Regions from separate parts of the Homo sapiens genome. Here region 1 is linked to region 2. Evidence: promoter capture Hi-C in human tissues and cell types (Jung and others, 2019). All regions are on one chromosome and are shown on one strand. The core of a region is centred on a gene start or on the middle of the fragment in contact, and the rest is flanking DNA. Distances in the headings are between cores, read along the strand shown. Region 1 overlaps ARID5B (AT-rich interaction domain 5B). Region 2 holds the start of NRBF2 (nuclear receptor binding factor 2).

Evidence for each region. The method cuts DNA at HindIII sites, captures the fragments that hold promoters and counts their contacts. A contact is called where the count stands out against the background at its distance.
Region 1: a contact is called between a fragment that was not itself captured here and the fragment with the promoter of NRBF2 in region 2, in 1 of the 25 tissues and cell types used here (aorta).

What each region holds. Positions count from the first base shown.
Region 1 is chr10:62,040,354-62,045,157 of GRCh38, forward strand. The region is part of intron 4 of ARID5B (AT-rich interaction domain 5B); the gene reads left to right. Among named protein-coding and RNA genes, the nearest start is that of ARID5B, 140 kb to the left of the region's middle. RefSeq lists an enhancer at 826-885. The HindIII fragment of the contact is 4,679 bases long and covers 1-4,130 here.
Region 2 is chr10:63,131,810-63,136,262 of GRCh38, forward strand. NRBF2 (nuclear receptor binding factor 2) reads left to right here and starts at 1,519. Exons shown (of 4, transcript NM_030759.5): 1 at 1,519-1,691. The coding sequence starts at 1,662. RefSeq lists silencers at 1,336-1,585, 1,796-2,065. The HindIII fragment of the contact is 15,309 bases long and covers 1-4,453 here.

The DNA.
Region 1 (4,804 bases), core at 541-3,040, 1.1 Mb before region 2:
TGTGTGTAATGTGTATATATAACTATATATAACGTTTTTACATGACTACCCTCCATAACAGTGAATAAAATCTTAAATGTATTGAAACATTGAATCGTGACTTTTGCTGATTATTCTAGCTTCAGATGTTAATCTTGTTCTGTCTGCTCCTTAACACATATTTCCAAGAACATATCTATAATCATAACATTGAATTATTGACTAAACCAGCATCGCCCAAGAGAAAGATAATGTGAGCCACATGTAATTTAAAATATTCTAGTAACCACATTTTAAAAGGTAAAAAGAAACATGTGGAGTTAATTTTAATAATATATTTTATTTAACCCAGTATATTCAAAATATTATCATTTCAATATGCAATCAATATAAAATGTTATTAATGAGATATTTTACTTTTATTTTGTATTAAGTCTTGGAGATCCAGTGTGTATTTTACACTGCGGCACATCTCAATTTGGACTTGACATATAGTATTTCAGATACTCAAGGGACACGTGGCTAGCGGTGACTGTATCAGACACAGCAATTCTAAATAGTCATAGAAATGTTTTATCTTACAGTGAAAAATGTAAAGAAGCTGTAACCTCTTCTGGGTTCATTGTTAGCTTTACATTAGGGTTTCTGATGGTATCTGTGTGCTGTTTCTCTATAGTGTAACAAACCCTCCCTCCAATTGAGTGATCACTCTAGCTTGCCCCACGGCTTATAATCTGCCCTTAGTTAACATGTCACCAGGTATTATCAACCTTGTTGCTGCCTCTCCACGCCCACTCCAGGCCCCAAAGCTCTTCTCATTCTGTACCCTCACCCCACCCTGCTCCAAGACACACGCTCTTCTATACAATCTGTGAGTTTGCATGAGGTTCTTGGTACCACAGAAGAGTTTTTAAAGTCATTTTCCAGTATCTTGGCTCCGGTACCTGCACAAACAAATGAAGCTCAGAGACCACTGAGGTACTTAGTTGGGGATGGTGCTGGTGCCCTCATAGGGAGGAAGGGTGAGAGGGATTTGCCTGAACAAAGAAAAATGTCTCCGAATCTCAGACAACCAAAAATAGTCATCTTTTTACTTTTAAGTAAAAGACTATCCTACTATTCACATTATTCTTTCTGAAAGGTATAAAAGCACAAAGTGAGTGAAAAGCCCCCTTTCTGTACAAATTCCTTTTTGGATCTTTTTAAAAGAATTGGGAGCCTATCACTTGATAACTGTTTCTTATGTGTATGTCTTTTAAATATTAAAATGTATCCCATGACATACTCATCCAAGTATGTCATAAGTTAAATATCTCCATGTTAATCCACATACACACCAAAACAAAAACAAAAACAATCCATCTCTTTTACTTATTTCCAAGTGGGGAATGTTTTCTGTAGAGAGGTAGCAAATCAGTTATCCTCAATGATGAAATGGAATATCTCATTTCCAAACCTGGAGAAATGGCTGAACAAGAATGTCCTGTTTATAAATGAGTTTAAAAACTGTTCTGATATTTACTGCTCTTACAAGGCTATTCAGTACAAAAATGTTGCTTTCACTTCTGTGCTGTCATGTTCAATAGTAACACCAAAGAACATATCAATCATAGACTAGAACGAGCAGATTTATTGATTGTAACAAAAAGAAAAAAGAGAGAGACAAAAAATTAACTCTCTTTGTTTAAGAGGTTCTATCTGTACAACCTTCAGAAATTGTGGAAATCAAAATGTCCTTAAAACACATTTCCAGAGCAGATCCTTAAACAGCCTTAAGAAAAAAAGACAATTATCTTGTTAATATTATATTTGTATTATATAGAACCATACCAAGAAAGACTAAATCTGTATTTATAGAAGAGTTTTCAAAAAATGAAAACAGGAGCTATTTCAAAGTCATAAGAAAAAAACACATAGTATAGCATTGAAACAACATGCTTATTCTCATTGTAATAGCTTCTGTGCATGATCTCCATTGAGAGAGGAGCCTGGGGCCTGGAAATGGCTCGTGGACACCTGGCATCTGGAGAGATGAATAGGAGAAAGGAGTTGCCAGGTAAATGTGAAAGTGGGAGTTTGAGCCTTGATGGCATTTTGAGAGTCCACTTTTGGTTTTACTGAATTTGTGACTTGACAGGACCTTGCAGCTAGCTGGTGGGTGGCATGGGCTGAGAAAACAGACCCTTTGCGTGCAGTATCAGCTCCTAGATAGCACCACCGCCACACCCTTAGGTGTGAGCTAAGTCCTAAGATGTCCGCTCTGCCCTGATGTCTCTTTATAGAATATGTGGAATTCTGGCTGTGCGTCGTGGCTCACGCCTGTGGTCCCAGCACTTTGGGAGGACGAGGCGGTTGGATCACGAGGTCAGGAGATCGAAACCATCCTGGCTAACACGGTGAAACCCCGTCTCTACTAAAAATACAAAAAAAAAATTAGCTGGGCTTGGTGGCGGGCGCCTGTAGTCCCAGCTACTCGGGAGGCCGAGGCAGGAGGATGGTGTGAACCTGGGAGGTGGAGCATGCAGTGAGCCAAGATCGCGTCACTGCATTCCAACCTGGGTGAAAGAGCGAGAGTCTGTCCCAAAAAAAAAAAAAAAAAAAGAATATATGGAATTCCAAGACAAAGGATTCTTTCCATAGGCTCCTGATCCTCAGGAAAACCTAGGCTGTGGTCTTGTCCATGCTATGGTATATAGACCCCATTATCCCAAAGATGCATAGGCTCTTGCACAGCAGCCATGAGCTACCACGTCCACTTCTTACAAGGGGACCCTCCACCAAGAATGGTTTCCCCTGGAGGATATTGCAGACAGCCAAATAGACCAGAGAGAAGGTGAGAGTTGGAAAGGTCTGGCATAGATTTCAATCTCTTTTCCTATTTCCAGAATTCTCCCCTTAGAGAGTCAATCCTCTGAAAAGCCAGACTGTCTCCTCACTCCTAGATTCAGCTCCCAGATTTTCCCCTTGTTTCTCAAGCAGTAGTGAAAAGCATCTATAATCCCTTTCTTCTTTGCCAGTGTGTTTGTGGACACCCCTATTATACAGACTTCTAGAACATTTTTATATTACGTTGGAATTCACTACATGATTTCAGAACAATATTTAAATAACGTGATCATTTACATTTCTCCCTTGCCTCAAGACACAGTGGGGGAACAAAGATAGAAATCTGCCTATCACTGCTGGTAAAGCTGACTTCAAAAAAGGCTTGCTTGTGTTTTAATGGCAAGAATGCATGGAGTCACATGCTTTCAAACCAATTAGCAATACAGATGAGCTAGGAAGTCCTGTTCCATTTATGGGTTGGGGGAAGGGTAGAAGTAAAATAATCTGTTTTTAAGTGTTTCTGAGAAATGAAGACCTCCAGGGCAGAGAGAGACGGCGGATCAGGAAATAGCTATGCAAATCACATGCCTAAGAAATTACTAAAACCTTGATCAGGAGCATTAATAATTACTCCAGCATTCACAAGTATGAAACAGAGTGAGTAAGACTGGGCATGTATTGGAATGGATTACAAAAGTGTTTACTTACATGGTTTGTTGAGCAGTCAATGAAGTCCATGGCTGTTTTGGACTTAAACTGCCCAAGCAATCCAGGTATAGCAAAGGCAGTAATACATTACTCTCATTGTTGACTCTTGGGGCTCTCAATGATTTTGACAAAGAGGCAAAGTGACGACCTCATATGAAGCCAGCTTCTTTTTTTTTTTTTTTAAATGTTCTTTCTAACACCACAACTGCTCACCCTTCCAGGAGGAAGAACAAGCACTTGGATTCTGTGAGAGCAGAGTTCATTGGAAATGCTAAATTGTAGTTTGTGGTTCAAGCAGTGTAGGGGTATGACTTGGGCAAAAGCACACTTGGAAACTCAAAGTCCAGGTCTTTATATCGCATGATATCCAGTGTGATGAGTGTAAAATTTCTCTAGGGCACATCCATCCATTAGTGATTGGGGTTGTCTGCTCTTGATGACATTTGAACATGAAAAGTGTTTAAATCTGGCTCTAGAATTTGGGTTCCAGACTCTGGGTTCATTTGCTCTTTTTTTTTTTTTTTTTTTTTAAGAGACAAGGTCTCACTCTGTCACCCAGGCTGGAGAGCAGTGGCACAGTCTAGGCTCACTGCAGCCTCAAACTGCTGAACTCAAATAATCATCTCACCTCAGCCTCCCAACTAGCTAGGACTACAGGCACATGCCACCACACCCAACTAATTTTCGTAGAAACAGGGGTCTCATTACATTGCCCAAGCTGGTCTCAAGTTCCCGGTCAAGCAATATTCCCACCTCCCAAAGTGCTGGGATTACAGTCATGAGCCACCACCAGGGCTTCATCTTTTTAATGCCTTTATCTGAGAAAAAATAATTACTCTGAAGAGGAAACTGTCAGAACAATTGCCAAATAATGAAACTTTTGCAGTATTGTGTTTCCATATCTATTGTTCAAAATTCATCATCAGAGTTAGAACGTCGCGCAGGATCAAGTTGTGCTTGTCAATGGCCCAGTGTGTTTATATCTCATACAATGCAATTGCTTCTCAGGCATTTCTGTTGGGTGTGGAAGACTGATTTTGGGAAAACAGAATGAAAATAAACTTGAATATTTCCTAAATTCGTATGTGATCAGTGTTTTGTGAATTTGTAGAAAGATTCAAACAATTGAATAGAAATTTAATACCAATGGTCACTATATGAAATATAACTGTGGATTTGAAATAAAAATTTCAGGGACTTATTTATGAATTTTTAAATATTGGCTTTAAGTTAAAGCCAAAATGAGGTCTGAGAGCTTCTAGTTTTCTTTTGTTCCCCCACATATTTGAAA
Region 2 (4,453 bases), core at 269-2,768:
TCACTAACTCCTCTCAACCTGATGCCCAAAAATATATCTTGAATATATCTACTTCTCTTCCAAGGTTTCCGGCACATGGTAGAAACATGATAACTATGTAATGAGTGGATGCATGACCCAATCTTCCCTACTTCCATTCCAGTCTGAGCGCCCATAATTAGTCAATCAACTAGCTTGTCTTGGTTCTTTTTCCTTAGGCCTTCCACAATCTATTCTTCACATTACAGGGAAATTAATCTTTTCAAAACTGTAAATTAAAGCAGATTATTCTCTAGCTTAATATCCTTTACTTATTTCCCAATGCACTTTGAGTAAAATTCAAATGTTTCATTGTGCACTGCAAGGACACCTATGTTTTGGAAGTTTCCTATCTCTCTGGTATCTTCTTTTGCATCTCTCTGAAATGCTGCAGCTCCCGCCACCCGACCTCCCCGCCTTTAGAGTTGAGGCATAAGACATTTCCTTTGTCGAGAAGGGTCTTTGTTTAACTGGCATTTTAAGGTTTAATCTTAAAGATTACGCCCTTAGCCAGGTGCGGTAGCTCATGCCTATAATCCCATCAGTTTGTGAGGTCCAGGAGGGCGGATCATTGAGCTCACTTGAGCTCAGCAGTTCAAGATCAGCATAGGCAACATGGCGAAACCCCATCTCTACAAAAAATACAAAAATTAACCTGGCCTGAGCACTTGTAGTTCCTAGCTACTTAAGAGACTGAGGTGTGAGGATCGCCTGGGGCAGGGGGCGGGCAGAGGGAGGTTGCAGTGAGTGGAGATTGCGTCAGCAAGACACTTTCTCAAAAAAAATCACGCCCCCCATGAAAGGCTTTCCTTTACCACCCAACTCCACCTTGGTTACTCTATCACAGCTCCCTATGTGTTCCCTTTCCAGCATAAATCACAACTATTTGTCAGTGAATTCCATGACAGAACGAACCTAGCTTTTGTTTGGCACATAATTGTTAAATGAATGCAGTATTATATTTGGCTAGACCAAAATTGTTTCCCTATCAGTTTGTGAGCAACTTGAGGGCAGAGCCCTAAATCATTCGAGTGTGCTGACCTCTAGGGGGGTTAGTCCAGTGCATGGTCTAGAATTGCTCAAATCGGCCTTTTGAAAAAATGAATCATGTACAATGATAAAGGTGTGGACAGGACCACAAGTAACGGTGTAACGATTAGCAGATTTAAGGAAAAGTCAGTCTAAAAGGAAACGTGAGAAGCTAATTGCAGAAGACAGCCATTTCAAGTCTTCAACAGCAAGGCTGTACCTCCTCACGTGACTTCAGTGTAGACTTTAAGAACCTAAACTAACGCTTCTCGCGAGAGGAAAGATTGACCGCTCGCAAGCGTACATCAGCTGGTGCCCCGCCTTCCCTGGGCCCCACCCACTGCCTGTCCTCATTCCCACCTTGAACCAGCCTTTTGCGCGTGTGACGTCATGGCGCCGTGCGTGGCCTCGGCGGTGGCGCAGGGGGCGGGCCCGCGGCGCGGCGCCGGAGGAGGAAGTGGTGAGGTTGTTGCTCCTTCAGCGCCTATCGCTGGCTCTTGGGGCGCAGAGAGGGGCCGCAGTCTCCGCGGCTGCGTCGAGCTCCCTTGCAGTCCCCTCCATGTTCCCCGGCGCCACTACTCCCCTTCCTAAGGCCGCCGCTTACCCCGGGGTCTATGGAAGTAATGGAAGGACCCCTCAACCTGGTGAGTGTCCCACAGAATATAGCGTTCGTCTTGGGTGCCTTTGCCTCAGGAGCCCGGCCCCGTCCCCGGCGCGTCGGCTAACCCTTTAGGCTGGGAGGTTGGTTTGGCAGGAGTGGTCGCAGAGGCTGTGAGGGGCTGCTAGGCAGGCCCTGGCCCAACTGCGGCTCCAGGCTAGCCACTTCAGACTTTGCCCTCCTGGGGGATCCCCGGGAAGTCCTGGCGCCCCCTGTCGCGGGGCCCCGGGCGAGGGGATGCCACCACCTGGGGCTGCCACCTCCTCTCTGGCTGGGGGAAGTCCTCTTAGCGCCACGTAGCCACCTCCCTACAGCCTGGAGAGGCACTGAAGCCGGCCAAGGCAGAAATGGTGTGATACTGGTTTTAAGTTCTAGCAGCAGGGTCTGAGTCTGAGTCGCCCCGCTTTGGAGAGGTGGAGGAGTGAATAGCCTCCTCACCCTCCACTTCCCCCTCCTCACCCTTCACTTCCCCCTCCTCACCCTCCACTTCCCCCTCCTCACCCTCCACTTCCCCCTCATTTCTCACATACATTCACATGCATAAACTGAGTCTACCGTCTTCCAAATATATTAGAGACAGCTGGGAAAAAGACAGCCGTTCCTGTATTTAGCTCAGATTCATCAATTTAGGCATCATGAAAGTGTAATAGGTGTTTGCTGTTCTCAGGAAAATGGCTGATAGCCTGTTTACTTGTGTTTTAAGGCGTTTCAGGTGTTGCAATTAAAAAACAACACAACAGAACCCCACTAACAACGGGAAGCATGAGTTCTTTTCAGACTGGCCATTGCATCTTTTAGTTTTCCAGAGAGGTTACCCATTTTGGATGTAAAAGTCAGATTACTTAAGGTTGCACACAGGAAGAACTTTTGAGTCACAGGTTTGCAATTCATTTGCGATGGTGGAATTGAAAGAAAGCTCTATAGAGGATTCTTTTCTCACATTAGAACTCTGAGTCCTAGAAGAGCAGTAGAGTCAGGTGGTTTAAGACTCTAGGTTTTGAAGCTATGCTGCTTGGATTTGAATTCTAACCTCGTCACTTGATATCTGTGTTACCTTGGGCAAACTACTTGGCTTCACTCGGCTTCAGGTTTTTTGGGAGGATTAAAGGAGTAAATAGGTGTAAAGCACTTAGAACTGTACTAAGTACATAGTACAGTGTAAGAGTTAGCGATTATAACCAGACCATAAGCCCTTAATTTAAAATCTATTTGTAGAATAAAGGTTTGGACTTGAGCTTTAAAAGCCTAAGATTCTCGGACCAAATCACTGGTGCCAGGTTAACTGTTGTGAGGCGCCCCTCCCTTTTAAGTTGGGTCTTGCCCCAGGTGGTAGGTATTTACACTTAAGACGAATTGGACTACATTTGCGAGTTTTTTTTAACCAGGGAACTGGCCAGGCGCCGGGGCTCACGCCTGTAATCCCAGCACTTTGGGAGGCCGAGGCGGGCGAATCACTTGAGCTTAGAAGTTCGAGACCAGCCTGGGCAACATGGCGAAACCCGGTCTCTACAAAAAATACAAAAATAGCCTGGCGTGGTGGCGCCCGCCTGTGGTCCCAGCTACTCGGGAGGCTGAGGTGGCAGGATCGCTTGAGCCCAGGAGGTGGAGGTTGCAGTGGGCCGAGATTGTGCCACTGCACTCCAACCTGGGCGACAGAGCGAGACTCTGACTCAAATAACCAGGGAACTGTCTTGCACTTTTCTTGTTTTTAAGGCGACATATAGTTGGCAATGAAATACAGTGGATGGCTCAATACTGAAACTTCACAGGAGTATTACTAGAAATAATCAGCTGTTTACGAAGTGCTTCAGAGTTCAGGTGTCCTTGCCAAATGAGCATTGGTTCAGTTCTAGTTAGCTTCACATTATTTGGCTGCAGAATAACCCCCGCCAACTGCCCCACGAATGTGTGATGTTTTAAAAGGAGACTAGAACTGGGTGACAGTTGCAGATAGAACTGCAGAATCACTACCAGTTCAGGAAAAATTAGTTAAATGGTGGCAATACCATTTAAATTCTCCTCCATAAAACGGAGCGAGTTTCGACAGAGTCTTTTTAAGCAGGCTAGCGTAACTCCGTATTTCAGCCATAAAATTTATGTAGGCAAGTATCAGAAATTTGGCATCTTGAATTCTTTTTTTTTTTTTTTTTTGAGATGGAGTCTCTCTCTGTCACCAGACTAGAGTGCAGTGGCGCGATCTCAGCTCACTGCAACCTCCGACTCCCTGGTTTAAGCGATTCTTCTGCCTCAGCCTTCTGAGTAGCTGGGATTTCAGGCACGCGCCGCCACGCCCAGCTAATTTTTGTATTTTTAGTAGAGACGGGGTTTCACCATGTTGGCCAGGATGGTCTCGATCTCCTGACCTCGTGATCCCCCCGCCTGGCCTCCCAAAGTGCTGGGATTACAGGCGTGAGCCAGCGTGCCCGGCGGACACCTTGAATTCTTAAACCATTTGAGTCTTGAAAGATCTAATTTCCAGCATAGTTGTTTATTGGAAGGTAACAGTAGAACAGACGTTGACGGTTACTTGAATGAGTACCAATTACAGGCCTCTGGCACTCAGAATTGTCACTCACAGTTTTATAAGATGAGGTTTTTGAAAATTCAGACTTTTTTTTTTTTTTTTTTTCTTTTTTGAGACGGAGTCTCGCTTTGTCACCCAGGCTAGAGTGCAGTGGTGCGATCTGGGCTCACTGCAGCCTCCACCTCCCGGGTTCAAGCAGTTCTCTGCCTCAGCCTCCTGAGTAG